Regions from separate parts of the Homo sapiens genome. Here region 2 is linked to region 1. Evidence: promoter capture Hi-C in human tissues and cell types (Jung and others, 2019). All regions are on one chromosome and are shown on one strand. Each heading gives the region's core, a stretch centred on a gene start or on the middle of the fragment in contact. The rest is flanking DNA. Distances are from core to core; before and after follow the strand shown.

Region 1 (4,236 bases), core at 14-2,513:
TAAAGTGCTGATTATATCACGTATATTTTAAAATACAACAGGTAAGATTTATTCTAAAGCTGTCAAAGAATGTTGGCTATAGAAAAAGTGACATTTGAGCTGGATTCTGAAGGATATATGAATCATTCACCAAATCGGGAGTAGACTGGGAATGGCACTGAAGATGTGGAAGTCTGACTAAAGAATTTGAACTTTACCTCACTGGACAACGCAAACCTACCAATGAGGTAGCTTTTATATAATTTTTCTGCAGAAAAGTGATATAAGATGCCTTTTAAAACTGGTATCGGCCAATATAAAAGGATAAAGTGCAGAAGCATGAGGCAATTAAAACTGTTTGGGAGGCTACATTTAAGAAGGAGTTATGAACAGCGGGGTTGGAACGAGAGGGCAAATTGGAGCGACACTTTAGGAGGTAGAACCAAGATAATTTACCATCCAAGTCAATGGGAGGGAGTCAAGGAAGGCTTCAACTTGAAAGACTTATCATGAAAGGTGACAGAATATGAAGAACGACATCTAATTTCATCTCCTATCTCTGACACACAACCATCCTAAACAACTTGCAACTCCACCAAGCCAGGCTTTTTGCACTTGCTGTTCCATCTATCTGTGCTGCCTAGTGAGTTTGGCGAGCTCATGCTTCCCAAGCAGCACTTTCTTCAGAGGGCCTGCCCTGACTACAACCAAAAAAGGTGCCTAGTCCCTGTGCTCCAGTACCCCGCAGCGCAGCCCTCTAATAAAAACAGGCCCCAAGCCAGTTTACACATCTGTCTCTCTCTCGACAGCTGGCATCCAGTCTACCCTTCACTACCGTCTCCCCAATGCTGAGCCCCCAAGGAGCGTTCCATAAATGTTAAGTGGCTGGCCGCGGACGAAGAGGCTCAGACCGCGCGAGTTCTTATCATTACTAAAATTCCCTCTAACGGGAAAAACCGCCGCCCAGAGTGCCAGAGGGCTGCGGACCCCACGTCCATGACCCTCATGCACCCGAAACTCCCGAGCTGGCCCTCCCCGCCGAACCCCGAGAACGAGCACAAACGCAGGGCCGGCCGGCTCCGGGGTCAGTCCCCCGGCCCAGCTCCAGCCCGGCTCTCAGGCTCGCCGCATTACCTAGACAGGACCTCCAAGTCCTCAAGCGCAGACAGCAGCCGCTCTCGTGTGCTGTTACCACCCGCCACTCCCAAACCGCCTCCCAGCCGCTCCTTCTCCTTCTCACCACTCGAAGACGCAGCCATTTTCCCCAGAGTCCCGCCACCGGCGCACGCGCAGAGCGAGCTGACGCAGGTGCGTGGCGAGAAGGCGGGCTCGGAAGGCGGAAGAGTCACCCAGGAGAGGAAAAAGAGGCCTGGCGAGAGCGCCCCCTTTGGGCCTGGAGGCGCACTGCGGACACCGGCGCCATCTGTTGGGCCGGCGAGGGCTTTCTGGTCCAAACCCTGGGAGCGACAGCTGAACTGAGAACAGTGGGGGCAACGCAGTCTGATTCTCCTGGGCCTAATGGTTTTTTTTCTTTCTTTCTTTCTTTTTTTTTTTTTGAGACGAGTCTCGCTCTGTTGCCCAGACTGGAGTGCATCGCCGCGGATGTCTTGGCTCACTGCAAGTTCCGCCTCCTGGGTTCACGCCATTTTTCCTGCCTCAGCCTCCCGAGTAGCTGGGACTACAGGCGACCGCCACCACGCCCGGCTAATTTTTTGTATTTTTAGTAGAGACGGGGTTTCACCTTGTTAGCCAGGATGGTCTCAATCTCCTGACCTCGTGATCCGCCTGCCTCAGCCTCCCAAAGTGGTGGAATTACAGGCGTGAGCCACCGCACCCGGCCCACCTTAACCATTTTTAAGTGGATAGTTCAGTGGCATTAAATACATTCATACTGTTGAGCAACTATCCATCTCCAAAACCTTTTATCTTGTAAAACAAACTCTGTACTCACTAAATGCTAACTCCTTATCCCTCCCTTCTCCAGGCCCTGGCAACCACCATTCTACTTTCCATTGCTGTAAGTTTGGCTACTCTAGGTACCTCATATAAGCAGAATCATACAGTATTTGTCTTTTTGTGTCTGGCTTATGTCACTCAGCATTATGTCCTCCAGGTTCATCCATGATGTAGCATGTGCTGGAATATCTTTCCTTTTTAAGACTAATATTCCATTGTATGCATATGGCACCTTTTGTTCATCCATTCATCTGACGATGGACAGTTAGGTTACTTCCACATTGCTATAATCCATCTTTATAGCCATACATCTTCCAACAAAATGTTTTGCTCATTACTCAGGTTAATTATTGAACTGAAGGAACCAATACAGTACATAAGTAGTAGTTAATTAACATAGTTTAAGTCATTGATGTACCACACATTCCAAACCAGAACTGGTTGTCAAAGGCAAAAATACGTCTTAGCCTACTTTTCCTAGGGATAACAATGTAGTAGGGATCACTCTCTACCAGAAAAAAGCAAAGTTACAAGCCTATTGGGAATGAGGATTCCATATTGCTATTATAAAAGATGGTCTGGGACTGCCTCACTCCCATGAGGTAGTAGTACCTGTAGTCCTTTCATTTCAGGGTCTCATCCTCTACTCTGTCTTTTTGGAGGTGCTAAACCTGACTCCTGGGCACCCAGAGTTGACAAGTCTTTTAGAAATTCATGTTAAATAAATTCACTCATAGCAACTGCTGCGTAATCTAGAATGCTGATTTACTCACTTACGATGAAAAGTAATAGTGCCAAACATATCTTTTTCCCATAGACAAAACTATATGAGAAGCCATATTATCACAGGATGTTGCTTGTTAAACTTGGATCAGAACAAACAAGGATAGATTAAAAATTAATGACACAATCATGAGGCTTTGTGTCTCCACAGTGTAGGGATATTTGTGTTCAAGAGATTGGATTATTTGTGTTCATAGGTCAGGGTACCTTTTCCTCTAGACAGTGCAAGAGATCCTTGTCACCTTTTGTTTTCTGACCGTTCCCTGCATCTGCTGTTGGCTAACCCTTTTTTGTTAATGCAGTCAATTCTCAGGCAATGGGCTAAAGTAGATTGAAGCTTTGTTCATTACACTTGCATTCTAAACATGCCTCTCAGTACTCTAGTCAATCATTTCTTATGTTAAGTTTCCAGGGTGCCAAACTTCTGCGGTATGTGTTGGTTTTGTTTACTCAACTCTCACGGGTCATATTGAGCCATGACTCTGGTAGGAGGAGAGAGAACATTATATTAGTGTAAACATAAAAATTCTAGAAGGATTCTAATTAGTTAAAAATGACCAATTATAGTCCTACTTTGCAGACACTGAGGATCAGTGTGTGGAGCATGTATGTGTATTGTGAACTCCTGACCTCCTCAGATTTATTGCAAATTCATATGCATATTAAACAGTTTCTATAGACTGATAAGTAATAGCATCTTTCACAGATATACTGTCTTGCAAATTGTACAAATCCAGGCGTGATAAACAAATATGAATTATTTTATATAGTATTACTGAATTCATGGTAATTTGGAGTTAGGTACATATTTTCTCAATCTGTAGATTCAAAAAGGACACTACTTTCTCATGAAATTTTATTGACATGGTGGGCAGTGTTCTAAGCACTTCAAAAATATTAACTTGTTTAATTTTCCTAACACTCCTATGAGGTAAGTACTGTTACTATCCCTATGTTACAGATAATGAAACTGAGGGGCAGAAATGTTAAGACACATGCCGGGGTCATATAGTAAATGGCAAAGCTGGAATCTGAACCCAGAGTCTGGCTCCAGGGTCTGTGCTCTTTACCACTGGTTATCCCAGCTCTCTGTAAAGAAAGAAGGATATTCAGGTACTAAAAGGACTGGGAACCTCTGACCTAAAATATGAGAGGACTTCAAAAAGTTCATGGAAAAATGGAATTAAAAGATAATAATTTAAAATATAAACTTTATTTCTCAACATAAGCTCCATCTAGTTCAAGACACTTTTGTAAATGACGATACCAGCCATTTAGTTCATCCCTAAATAAATGAGGGCCCTTGGAATTTAACCGTGTCAATGCTGTCTTTTTTACTTTTTTCTTTTCTTTTTTTTTTTGCCACAGGGTCTCACTCTCTGTCACTCAGGCTGGAGGGCAGTGGTGCAACCACAGCTCACTGCAACCTTGACCTCCCAGGCTCAAGCAATCCTCCCAATACATTATTAACTGAAGAAAAATGAGTGCCCTTTACAGATTTTATTTATTTATTTAGTT
Region 2 (4,319 bases), core at 698-3,197, 890 kb after region 1:
GCAGACCAGATTTGGCCCACAGGCTTTAGTTTGCCAACCTCTGCAATGGTGCATGCATATACTTTTATTTGTGCTTGACAAATAAAAGGCACTTAGTAAATAATATGATTAATAGGCATTAAACACTTTCTGTATTCTGGGTGCTATTGCAAAAAACTTTATATGTATCAGTTTACTTAAGCCTTAAAACATCTCTCTGCGGTAGATACTATTATCACCAAATGTCATAGAGTAATAATAGAAGCACTTTCATTAATAGATAGGAACACAACATTGGTTCAAAAGTCTTAGGCAATACATTAAGAACAAGAAAAATAATTAACCTGTAAATAAAGGGGGGAAATGTATCACTATTATTTAGAGTTGATATGACTGCTTACAAATACAAATAAATATAATACAAATACAAATAGCAAAAAAATATGAGATAACAGAAAAAGATTTGTATTAAAAAATTTCAGTAAGCTGATTGGCTATAAGATAAAGTTAGAAAATTCATTAGCCTTCTTATATATCAACAATAACCAACTATGAAATACAGTAATAAGAAGTAGCAGCCTAAACTATAAAATACTTAAGATTTTAAAATGTGTAATAGCTATGTGAAGAAAACTGCAAAAAGATGTGAATGGATGGAGGAGTATTCATGAATGTGTCAACTTAATGCCATAAAAATGACAGCTTTTACTAAATTATTCTATAAAGTCAATGCAGTTCTAATCAGAAATTCAACAGGAGTTTTAAAATGGAATTTGACAAACTGATGGTTCAAGTTTTGAGAAGGGAGCATGCACAAGAATGGCCAAGTAAATTTCAAAAAGAAGTATAATAAATGGGACCCATCAAAGGTCGAAACATTATAAAATTACAATTATTAAAATAAGAATTTGGAGTAGGAATAGGCATATTGATCAAAGGAATAGAATAATAAATTCAGGAGAAGATCCATAGATAAACATGGATAAAGAAGAATTGTATGATAAATGAATGAGTAATGGAAGAACTGGTCTATAAAGGGTGTGGGACAATCAACTGTTTAATTGAAGTAAAGATAGTTAGGTACCCACTTCGTGACACTCTCAAAACTAAGTTCCAGGTGGACTAAATGGTTTTTTATTTTTATTTATTTATTTATTTTTGAGATGGAGTCTCGCTCTGTCACCAGGCTGGAGTGCAGTGGCGTGATCTCGGCTCACTGCAACCTCCGCCTCCCAGGTTCAAGCGATTCTCCTGCCTCAGCCTCCCAAGTAGCTGGGATTACAGGTGCCCACCACCACGCCCAGCTAATTTTTGTATTTTTAGTAGAGACGGGGTTTCACCATGTTGTCCAGATGGTCTCGATCTCTTGAGCTTGTGATCTGCTCGCCTCAGCCTCCCAGAGTGCTGTGATTACAGGCGTGAGCCACTGTGCCCAGCCCCGAGTGGACTAAATGTTGATAAATAAAAAATAAAATGACAAAACTTTTAAAAGTTAATTTAAAAACTCGTTGGAGTAGAGAAGGCCTTTTAAGTGAGACATCAAACTTAGATGCCATTTAAAAAGGAAGGCAAGCAATAGACTGGGATAAAATATTCGACATGTAATAGACAAAATTAATATTCAAGGTATATAAGGTGTACCTACAAATCAATATGAAAAAGATAACCTGATAGAAAATGGGAAAGAATGTAAGCAGGAAATTTATAGAGGTAGAAATATAGGTAGCCTGTTAAGTTTTGAAGGAATACTATTGAACCGAATATAAATAGCTTCATCTTTTTAGGAGAAAAGTTTGGCAGTATCTATCCATTTCAAATGTACGTTCTCCTGAGCCAGAAGTTTTATTTCTATATGTCTGTAATATAGAAATGCTATCATTCATTAATAGAGAGTATTGCATGATTATTCCATGCAGAGGAGAAAATGTATGATGGGAAACTGGAAGTAATAAGATCATCATTAGAACAGTTAAATTATGGTGTGCCCTTACACTATAATATTAGATACTTATGAAAAAACATGAAATAGACATAGATGTACTTCTTAAGATATTTTACATGAAAGGGCGAGATACAATATAATACATACACAAAGACACAATTCATACACACACAAAAAAAATACAATACACAAAAGCAGTGTATGTGATTTCACTTACATAACAACCAATCCCAGAAAACCTAACACACAGGTAAGCACAGAGAAAAAGACTGGAAGGGTACACCACAGTTGTTAGCTATAGAAATAGGAGTTGGATTAGGGATCAGGAAAGAGTTAAAAACAATGTTTGTATGTGTATTTTCAAGTATAAGCAAGTACAGCCTTTGTGATATAACAAACATAACAACACATGCAAGGCTTTGTTATGATTGGTCCTGATTAGGACCATTCCTCCTGGGTGGACAGCTTTGATTTATGTCGGTTTTCCCTGCGTAATTTTTAATAGCACTTCCTTTCACTTGCAGAAGCTTCCCAGTTGGTGTCTGAAGTCATTGGTGTTTTTAGAAATAGCAATTTCTGTATAGTGTTGGATCTGAAACTGTGTTAAAGTGGGTTAAAGAAGTGAGAATTCTACCAGTGATTCTTAACCTCTATAACTACAACTGCCAACCAAGACAAAATAAAGTGCTTTTTATTTTCAGAGTTTCTGTTATAAAAACACTTTGCTTTTTTAAATATAAAGTTATAATTTCGAATGTAGTTTTTTTAAAGTCCCATATGTCTGGATATTTTGATCCTCCCCTTTAATATTAAAACCTAATATTTCAAGACAGTTAATGATAGAGGTCAAGAGAGGAATCAGAAGCTTAAGAGGAAGACAGAGTAAGGAGAAGGAAGTTGTTTTTTTTTTTTTTTTTTTTTTTTTTTTGAGGCGGAGTCTTGCTCTGTCGCCCAGGCTGGAGTGCAATGGCGTGATCTCGGCTCACTGCAACCTCCGCCTCCCAGGTTCAAGAGATTCTCCTGCCTCAGCCTCCTGAGTAGCTGGGACCAGAAGCACGTGCCACCACACCCGGCTAATTTTTTGTATTTTTTAGTGGAAACGGGGTTTCACCATGTTGGTCAGACTGGTCTCAAACTCATGACCTCATGATCCGCCCACCTCAGTCTCCCAAAGTGCTGGGATTACAGGCGTGAGCCACTGCGCCTGGCCCGGAAGGTTTTTTTAAAAAGAAGTTGAAGGAAGATGAGTATGATTAGAGGCAATCTTTAACCAAGGCATAGTTGTAGATTTATAAACAAAGAATCTGGTCATCTCAGAAAGGACTACTTTAAGGACTACTGGATTCTGCAGACAAATCTACTTATAGGAAATAAAGAAATGTTACTTGATTTTATTATGATAAAATTATTTTGGAGGAATTAGTGAAGGAAACATGTTAATATGGTTAAGTTATAGTAATACAGTAGCTTTTACACAGGAACTCAAACTTTCTGTTGTGAATTTAGTTACCAATGTATTACTGTGGCCAGAAAATATTCAGAAACTACAGGTTTAATCTTCAGTCCAAAAATCACACCAATGGATTTGAAGTTCTACAAGAGCAAAGTTAACAATCTATAATATAAAAACTAAAGTTTTATATAATACTTCTAAAAAGGACAGTAAAATATTTGGAAGTGAAAATAGGATTGTCCCAGGTGTAGTTGCCTTTTGGCTCTAAAGGGTAGCCTATGTGCTCCAAAGACACTAGACAGCTAGAGCTATATGTGGAACTTAAGAAGATGTTACTTGAAAGAAAAACTGATCTATGTGCACACTATCAGTCCTTTAATGGACTGGGGTTCGTTTCTTGGAAGCAGTTCTTTCTCTCTTGTTTCCATAGTTTCCTGACTGGAAGTATCTTTTTGATCAAGATTTCCTTTGAAGTCTATTTTAACAGGATTTTCATGTTAGTATTAAGGTATAATTTCTTAGTGGGAGAATGGGGGCTGTATCTCCTAAATGTCTAATTAAATTTAAATTTAGTATATCTGACTAAGAAGGGTGAGGATGGTGGCTTGAATGCCCTCTTCCCTTTTAAACCTTTCTTCACTTAAGGGACATGAAAGAGTGAGGCTTATCCATCCGACCAACACTACTCTTTCCTTCTTTCCAGTGGATGTGGGATTGGAGAAGAATAAGATAAATAAGTTACAGTAAATTTGTTGCTAACAATCTGTGTAAATTATTGATTTCTTTGTAAGTGTATGAACACTTTCATTAGGTTAAATTGTTGATATTTTAAAGTTTTTGACCTCAGTGGCAGTTTCATATGGTTTGACCTATTGCATTATGAAACTATGGCTATAATCACTGCCCTGTATATAAAAATGTTATGGCACTTAAACAAAAATACAT

What was found. The method cuts DNA at HindIII sites, captures the fragments that hold promoters and counts their contacts. A contact is called where the count stands out against the background at its distance.
Region 2: a fragment that was not itself captured here is called in contact with the fragment with the promoter of MED4 in region 1 in 2 of the 25 tissues and cell types used here (aorta and dorsolateral prefrontal cortex).

The regions. Positions count from the first base shown.
Region 1 is chr13:48,093,841-48,098,076 of GRCh38, forward strand. It overlaps MED4 (mediator complex subunit 4), which reads right to left and starts at 1,264. Exons shown (of 7, transcript NM_014166.4): 1 at 1,114-1,264. The coding sequence starts at 1,238. RefSeq lists a silencer at 473-767. The HindIII fragment of the contact is 12,809 bases long and covers 1-3,868 here.
Region 2 is chr13:48,983,565-48,987,883 of GRCh38, forward strand. All of the region lies in intron 1 of FNDC3A (fibronectin type III domain containing 3A), which reads left to right. Among named protein-coding and RNA genes, the nearest start is that of FNDC3A, 9.8 kb to the left of the region's middle. The HindIII fragment of the contact is 3,503 bases long and covers 197-3,699 here.